Linked DNA regions of Homo sapiens: all the other regions are linked to region 2. Evidence: promoter capture Hi-C in 16 types of primary human blood cells and fetal thymus (Javierre and others, 2016). All regions are on one chromosome and are shown on one strand. The core of a region is centred on a gene start or on the middle of the fragment in contact, and the rest is flanking DNA. Distances in the headings are between cores, read along the strand shown. Region 1 overlaps PDE11A (phosphodiesterase 11A). Region 2 holds the start of NFE2L2 (NFE2 like bZIP transcription factor 2). Region 3 overlaps MTX2 (metaxin 2).

What was found. Contacts are between HindIII fragments. The CHiCAGO score rates a contact against its expected background, and 5 or more counts as called.
Region 1: a contact is called between a fragment that was not itself captured here and the fragment with the promoter of NFE2L2 in region 2, in 1 of 17 cell types (total CD4 T cells). The highest score is 5.5, in total CD4 T cells.
Region 3: a fragment that was not itself captured here is called in contact with the fragment with the promoter of NFE2L2 in region 2 in 1 of 17 cell types (activated CD4 T cells); the score reaches 5.0 in activated CD4 T cells.

What each region holds. Positions count from the first base shown.
Region 1 is chr2:177,780,245-177,783,244 of GRCh38, reverse strand. All of the region lies in intron 9 of PDE11A (phosphodiesterase 11A), which reads left to right. Among named protein-coding and RNA genes, the nearest start is that of PDE11A-AS1, 110 kb to the right of the region's middle. The HindIII fragment of the contact is 1,408 bases long and covers 786-2,193 here.
Region 2 is chr2:177,263,279-177,265,978 of GRCh38, reverse strand. It overlaps NFE2L2 (NFE2 like bZIP transcription factor 2), which reads left to right and starts at 1,252. Exons shown (of 5, transcript NM_006164.5): 1 at 1,252-1,447. The coding sequence starts at 1,403. RefSeq lists silencers at 1,109-1,978, 2,239-2,398 and an enhancer at 2,079-2,700. The HindIII fragment of the contact is 5,708 bases long and covers 1-2,700 here.
Region 3 is chr2:176,270,657-176,273,628 of GRCh38, reverse strand. All of the region lies in intron 1 of MTX2 (metaxin 2), which reads right to left. Among named protein-coding and RNA genes, the nearest start is that of MTX2, 2.7 kb to the right of the region's middle. The HindIII fragment of the contact is 2,998 bases long and covers 1-2,856 here.

The DNA.
Region 1 (3,000 bases), core at 240-2,739, 520 kb before region 2:
TGACAAGCCCTCTTGATATTGTACAGATTATGAGGGAATGAATATTGACTGCCTCTAGTAATCAGAGGATGTGGGAAATGATTCTGTATGAGAAATGAAGAGAATTGTGTTATTATACATTTGAATATAGGGAGGGGGAAAAGAGAAAAAGAGAAAGTTACATTGGAGAGAAGCCAGAAATATGAGTAAAGGCTGAGACTGTACGAGATTAATGGTCAGTGAAATGCCCCATTGGTGGCAGGGGCAAAATCTATTTTGAGAATGGTGGAGCTGATACTTCATGAGAGGGTGCTTGTTTGTTTGTTTGTTTGTTTGTTTGTTTTGATGCAACTTCATAATTTGTCTTTTCAGAAAGCAAGTGGAGAGGGGAGAGATAGAGAAAGAAGGAAGGGAAGGATGGAGGAAGGAAAGAAAGAAAAGAAAGGGAGAGAAAGAGAAGAAAAAGGAGGGAGAAAGAGAAAGGAAGGAAGTAGGGAAGAAGGGAAGAGGGAAGGAAGGAAGCAAAAAAGAAAGAACCTTCTTCACATTATACTAAATTTATGAATTCTTGATGTGAGTGGATTTTTTTGGTGTGGAAATTGAGGAGGGAGCTGAATTTCACATTTAGTGTGATGATTATATAACAGATACAGCACAAGAATACATAAGAACTCAAAGGCCAAGATGAGAATATAAACCTGCCAAGAATATGTAGACATTTTGAAAAAGGCTTTGAATTTCCATAGTATTTCATGAGTTTAGGGGTTCACGTTGATCTTACCTAGATTTTGAAAGACAAGGAAGCTTCAGTTGACACCTGATTACAGAAATCTTTGGATGGCATAGGGTGGCAAGTCCCAGTTGAATGTTGATAATGTTTTGTTTATTTATTGCTTTTTAACCACTTTTTGGCAACTTAATGGTTTAAACACAAACCCCACATAGAGTCAAAGGGAAGGGACATAGACCCCACCTCTCATAGAAATAGTGTCAAAGAATGTGTGGTCATCTTAATTCACCAGATAATAATTTGGATGTAGTTGCAAAGTACCTGTTAAATTTCAAGATTTATATAATACAAGATATGTTATCCTCTGGCAAGGGCACAGGTACCAATATTTAGAGGGAAAGATAGTTTGGGAAACTGCCAAATGAATGTCAGTGTTGTCATTATGTACTAGCTAATGAATAGTATTTAGCCTTATGAATGCATCTTAATGGCTTGCATTTAAAAATTAGATTGAGATTTAAAGTGTGGTTACTAAAATTAACATTTTAATCTGGGTAATGACATAGAATGATTACATTAAACCTTTGATTTGGGTGAAAAAATGGTGAATGAATTTCTCATCCCAAGTTGAGGGCCCACTCAAACCACTGGAGAGTTGGCTTCATACCTTTGGATAAAACAAAAGCAAAAACGGCATATCTCTTTGGTCAAGAAGTTTAATTAAAAGAGAATTCAGCTGGACATGGTGGCTCACACTTGTAATCCCAGCACTTTGGGAGGCAGAGGCGGGCAGATCACCTGAGGTCAGAAGTTCAAGACCAGCCTGGCCAACATGGCGAAACCCCTTCTCTACTAAAACTACAAAAATCAGCTGGGTGTGGTGGCACGCACCTGTAGTCCCAGCTACTTGGAGGCTGAGTCAGGAGAATCTCTTGAACCCAGCAGATGGAGGCTGCAGTGAACTGAGATCAAGCCACTACACTCCAGCCTGGGGAACAGAGTGACAGACAGAGTCTCAAAAAAAAAAAAAAGAAAAGAAAAAGAAATTGAGAATTCAGCCAAGATGGGCAAGGTCTCAAATTGACCGCAAACTCTATTGGCACCATTTTTGCAGCAGTGTGTGTTTACTTTGTGTTTTTGTGTCACATTTTGGTAATTCTTACAACATTTTATACGTCTTATTATATCTGTTACAATTATCTGTGATCAGTGATTTTTAATGTTACTATTGTAATCCTTTGGGGCACTATGAACTGTGCCCATATAAGGCGGTAAACTTAATTGATAAATGTTTTGTGTTCTGACTGCTCTGCTGACCAGCTCTTCCCCATCTCTCTCCCTTTCCTTGGGCCTCTCTGTTTTCCAAGACACATCAATATGGAAATTAGGCCAAGTAATAACCCTACAATGACCTCTAAGTGTTCCAGTGAAAGGAAGAGTTGCACATCTATCACTTTTAATCATAAGCTAGGCATGATTAAGCTTAGTGAGAAAGGCATGTCAAAAGGTGAGATAGGCTGAAAGCTAGGCCTCTTATGCCAAACAACCAAGTTGTAAATGCAAAGGAAAAGTTTTTGAAGGAAATTAAAAATGCTGTTCCAGTGAACATATGAATAATAAGAAAGTGAAACAGCCTTTTTGCTGATATGGAGAAAGTTTTAGTGGTCTGAAGAAAAGATCAAATGAGCCACAACATTCTCTTAAGCCAAAGCCTAATCCAGATCAAGGCCCTAATTCTCTTCAAATCTATGAAGACTGAGAGAGGTGAGGAAGTTGCAGAAGAAAAGTTTGAAGCTAGCAGAGATTCATGAACTTTAAGGGAAGAAGCCATCTCCAAAACATAAAAGTGTGAGATGAAGCAGCAAGTGCTGATGTAGAAGCTGTAGCAAGTTATCCAGAACATCTAGCTAAGATCATTGATAAAGGTTGTTACAGTAGACAACAGATTTTCAATGCAGACAAAACAGCTTTCTACTGGAAGAAGATGCCATCTAGGAATTTCATAACTAGAGAGGAGAAGTCAATGTCTTCAAAGCACAGGCTGACTCTCTTGTTAGGGGCTATGGTAAGTTGCTGGTGATTTTAAATTGAAGCCAGTGCTTATTTACCATTTTGAAAATCCTCGGGCCCTTAAGAATTATGCTAAATCAAGCCAGAAGTGGTGGTGTACACCTGTAGTCCCAGCTACTTGGGAGGCTGAGGCGGGAGGATCACTTGAGGTCAGGATTTCAAGACCAGTTTGGGTGACAGAGTGAGATTCCCTGTCTAAAAAATAAAAAATAAAAGAATTA
Region 2 (2,700 bases), core at 3-2,502:
AATTCCAGGAAGCTAGAAACTGAAAACCAGTCTTGTATAGAGTTAGAAAGATTGTAAATGCAGAAGAGGAAGAAAAAAACAAAACTAAACCATTTATCTATCCTCTTTGAACCCTTATAAGAGTTCACAATATTCCTCGTTTCAAATACTTGAAGTCTTCTCTGGGCAATGATTAATTTTTAAATAATTGTTTTTAATGTAAGACATAAAACATACGCACTGCAGATTTAAAGCATACTTGGAAGTAACAAGGAGAAACATAAAAATCGTTGATTCCACAGCATTTAATATATTGGTAACCTTCAATTTTTTTCTAGGCACGTTTTTATAAAATGAGCCAATACTATACAAACGTTTTTGTAACTTTTTTTAATTTGTACTATTTTGTGAGTACGTGAAAAAGAAATTTGTAAAGAGTAAACGATTACAGCATGTTGTGGTATTACACACTGTTGAAGGGCGCCATCTGTGGCGTGGTGGCTGCGCTTTGGTGGGAAGAGGTTCTCTTGGGGTTCCCGTTTTTCTCCCAGCTCTGGGTGGGCAATACTGACCACTCTCCGACCTAAAGGGGCTTCTCCGTTTGCCTTTGACGACCTGAGCTTAGGAGAATGGAGACACGTGGGAGTTCAGAGGAGGGCGTTCAGGGTGACTGCGAACACGAGCTGCCGGAGCTGTCCACATCTCCCCTAGGCAGGGCCCACTGGCCCCAGCCCGGGAAGGGAGCAAGGGCGGGAGGGCAGTTGGCAGTGGCACGGTCTGGGTCCAAATCTTTAGCCCCCCCCACCCCGGCTGGCGCCATTCTCGGGCGGTAAAGTGAGATAAAAGCAGGGCAAGGTTCTGCAACTCCAAATCAGGGAGGCGCAGCTCCTACACCAACGCCTTTCCGGGGCTCCGGGTGTGTTTGTTCCAACTGTTTAAACTGTTTCAAAGCGTCCGAACTCCAGCGACCTTCGCAAACAACTCTTTATCTCGCGGGCGAGAGCGCTGCCCTTATTTGCGGGGGAGGGCAAACTGAACGCCGGCACCGGGGAGCTAACGGAGACCTCCTCTAGGTCCCCCGCCTGCTGGGACCCCAGCTGGCAGTCCCTTCCCGCCCCCGGACCGCGAGCTTCTTGCGTCAGCCCCGGCGCGGGTGGGGGATTTTCGGAAGCTCAGCCCGCGCGGCCGGCGGGGGAAGGAAGGGCCCGGACTCTTGCCCCGCCCTTGTGGGGCGGGAGGCGGAGCGGGGCAGGGGCCCGCCGGCGTGTAGCCGATTACCGAGTGCCGGGGAGCCCGGAGGAGCCGCCGACGCAGCCGCCACCGCCGCCGCCGCCGCCACCAGAGCCGCCCTGTCCGCGCCGCGCCTCGGCAGCCGGAACAGGGCCGCCGTCGGGGAGCCCCAACACACGGTCCACAGCTCATCATGATGGACTTGGAGCTGCCGCCGCCGGGACTCCCGTCCCAGCAGGTGCTGCCTCGGCCCTCTGGGCCCTGCGGTGGTGCCGGGACGGGGGCGGGGGAGCTAGGGAACCGCGGCCCGGGAGGGACAGCCGCAACCGGCTTCCCCCACGTCTGGCCAGAGCCAGGACCGCGGCGCTGGGTAGAGCCGCCGCGCTTGCGCCGGGGCAGGGCGGGGAGGGGCAGCGGGGACGCGGCCGGGTGATCCGACCGACCACGAGCCCGAGGGCGAACGGGTGGGAAGTTGCGGGAAGGTCTGGGGACTGAGCCCGCTCGCGTGGGCCTTGGGGGAGAATCCAGCCGCGTCCCCGGGCCCGAGAGCTGGGACTCCGGAGCCCCTAAGTTTGAGCGGCCCGGTGGGCGGCGGGGCAAGAGGGGGCGGACGCTGGCCGTCTGAGCCGGCGCGGCCCGGCCCTTCCGGGGCTGCGCGGCTCCCCCGCCTCGGTGCCGGCAAAAATGTGCCTAGTCACGGGGCCGCTCTCGGGGGAACTGAGGTCGCCTTCGGGCTGGGACCCGGAGCCCCTTCGCCGCGCCCCAAGACCTCCTTGAGTGCGGGCTGCGACGCGCTCACCCCGCTGGGCCGTCTGTGGGCGCGGCTTTGCGAAGTCATCCATCTCTCGGATCACTCTCTGGCAGCCTTGAGCTCTCTTGAAAGCCCAGCCCCGGGACGAGGGAGGAGCGCCTTAAGTGCCCAGCGGGCTCAGAAGCCCCGACGTGTGGCGGCTGAGCCGGGCCCCGCGCACTTTCTCGGCCGGGGAGGGGTTCGGGCTCGGGCACCCGGAGTTGGCCCCTCGTAACGCCGCGGGAAAGTGCGGGCGAGGGCAGTGGACTCTGAGGCCGGAGTCGGCGGCACCCGGGGCTTCTAGTTCGGACGCGGTGCCCCCTGGTGGCGCTCACCGCGCGCGTGGCCTTGGCTTCCGTGACAGCGCTCGGTTGGCCGTCACAGCAGCCCTCGGTTGGCCCTTTCCTGCTTTATAGCGTGCAAACCTCGCCGCGCCAGGGCCAAGGGACAGGTTGGAGCTGTTGATCTGTTGCGCAATTGCTATTTTCCCCAGAGCGGCTTTGTCTTTGGATTTAGCGTTTCAGAATTGCAATTCCAAAATGTGTAAGACGGGATATTCTCTTCTGTGCTGTCAAGGGTAAGAGTTGCGAGTGTAGATTAGAATTTCTGTTGCTTTTAGTCTGTTAGTAATTTTTTGCTTTCAGCTATTATTTCTCCCCTGAGTACTTTATATATGTTTCCTTTTCAGTTGAGAATTTGCC
Region 3 (2,972 bases), core at 108-2,607, 990 kb after region 2:
AAAAGATATCCTTATGAATAAGGATCTCAAAGAAGTCACTTCAAGAATACCACAGAGAGATGCCAGATATCTTTAAATGTTTCCAAAAGAAATAATCAGTGTTAGCTCATGTCCACAGGAAGGAAAGGTAATAAGCAAAGTGTTGGATACACTAAAAATTAGAGCTCTCAACTACAAAAACAGATTCATAATTACTTAAGTTATAACAGATCTATATAGATACATAACTCCAACCTGTACTACCAGAAACAGAACACTGTGAATAGTTGCTGGATTTGAGTCACATTTATAAGTCATTTACAAGTCAAACACAGGGTTTCCGATAAATTATTACTTTAACCACTGCTATAGTCTGAATATCCCCTTCACAACTCATGCTGAAATGGAATTACCATTCTGACAGTATTAACAGGTGGGATTGTTAAGAGATGACTAGATCATGAGGGCTCCACCCTCATGAATGGATTCATCTCTTTATCCCAAGAGTAGGTTGTTGTAAAAGCAAGTTCAGCCCTCTCAGTCCCTGGCTCTTGCCCTCCCTGGCCTTTCCACCTTCTGCCACAGGATAATGCAGCACAAAGGCTCGCATCAGATACCGGCACCTTGAAGCTGGAGTTCGTTGCCTCCCAAAATGTGAGACTTGAATTTTTTTTCTTTGTAACTTACCTAGTCTGTGGTATTCTGTTATAGCAACACAAAACAGATTAAGGCAGCCTCCTGTTTTCACTTCTTGGCAAAACATAATCTTATAAATTTTAACAATTACAATCATTTAAATTACAAAAGTAAACTATGCTCACTATAGTAATTCAAACAATTCAGAAATATAGTTCCTCCACCCTCTACCAACAATCTATCTTTATTATCCCAATCGCTAGTTACAATTAGTTGAATATTCTTAACATATATAAACATATGTATGTTTATATAGATTTCATGAGTTCATACAAAATAGATATTATTTTATAACTTTTTACTTAATATAACCATAGCTTTCAAGACAACGTATTTAACAGATATACTTCTTCATTTTTGGATCTGTAAAAATGTGACCATACCATAATTTTTGTATAAATGTTTTTGACAAATAATAACTGTACATTTAGGAGGTACAACGTGATATTTTGAACTAAATAAATCAAAGAATAGAAAGAATAAATCAAGGTAATTAATATATCCATCACCGCACCAACTTAAATTTTTGTAAGAAAATTATAAATCTAAGCCTTTAGCAATTTTGAAATATATAATACATTATTATTAACTGTGGTCACCTTGCAGTGCAATAGATCACTAAAACTTTTTCTTCTAGTCTAACAAACTTTGTTCCCTTTGATCAACATCTCTTCTCCATTCCTCTTCCCCATCTCTCACCTCTGTCCCCCTCAGCCTCTGGTAACCACCTTTCTATTCTGTTTCTAGGAGATCAACTTTCTTAGATTTCCCCAAAAAGATTAGATTTTAGATCACTACTTGTCTTTCTATGTCTAGCTTATTTCATTTAGCATAATGTCCTCCAGATCCATCCATTTTATCACAAATGATAGGGTTTCCTTCTTTTTTAAGGCTGAATAGTATTCCATTGTATCTTATATACATTTTCTTTATCCATTCATCCACTGATAAACACCTGGGTTGCTTCCATATCTTGGCTATTGTGAATACTGCTGCAATGAACATGGGACTGCACATACCTCTTAGACAATTTCAATTCCTTTGGATACATGCCCAGAAGTGGAATTGGTGGATTGGTGTACAATAATTTGACATATATTTAAAACATTTCTAGTTTTTCGCTATTACAAATAATGCTGCAATTAATATCATTGTGTATTTCTTTAAGTACTGGTCTTTACATTTCTATCAGATAAACCCCCATAAGTAGAATTTTCAGGCCAGAGAATGTCATTTTAATAAATATTGCTACATTACGTTCCCAAAAAGTAATACTAACTTACAGACCCAATAGTTTGAGAGTAACTTTTCCCCATGCCCTATTAGTACTAGAAATCATATTCACTTTTGTCCATCTGATGGCAGGGGTGGGAGGATGCTATACATTATTAGGGACAGAGAACATCTTTTCATCTGTTCACTGTCCATCTATATTTCACCCTTTTGTGAAATGCCTGTTCCAATCCTTTGTCCTTGATTCTGTTGGTTTGTCTTCTTATTTGTACTAACTTGAGATGTCTTTTATCAAAGTTTTAAAATTTTTTCGGCAATCAAATCTGCCAATTTCTTCTCTTATGGATTATGAATTCTTAAGTTTTGCTTAGGCCTCTTCTGCTATCCAAGGATTATTAAAATAATCTATGTTTTCCTCTAATTATTTTATTACAATTTTGTTGTTTTATATTTAGATCTTTAATCAATCTGGAATTTATTCATGTGGTGTAATGACTTAGTAGTTGTTCCAACACCATTTATTGAATTATCCATTTTTAAATGCTTCCTCCTAGAGTAACAGATCACTACAAATAGCTAAGACGGCAGACAGACAAAATGCCTAGAAATTTTTAAACGTCACTACTTAAAGCAGTATCCAAAGTTTATTAAAAGACATTCATCATTTTCTCATTAAAAGAAATCACATATTAGGACACATGCACACAGTGAACCACTCAACATACACTGTGAAGTTTTTTTTTTCAACATAGTAGCAAACTAAATTAAATCGCTGATCTAACTATATAAGCCTGATTTTGTTTCAACATAAATGGTAAAAGCAGAAATAATCATTGCTTGAAATCTCAAGATTAGTCATTGATTTGGGTCGCAAATATTTATTGAGCACCAACTGACTATGGATACAATGGGGAACAAAACAAGTTTGATCCCTACTTTCAGGAAGCTTGCAATCTAGTAGGAGCTTCTCTCCTCTAAAAAATAATGTTTTTAAGTGAAGAAGGAAAAAAAAGAAATGTACGTTCACACAAACGCAAAGCAGTGAAAAACATTCCGGCAAATTT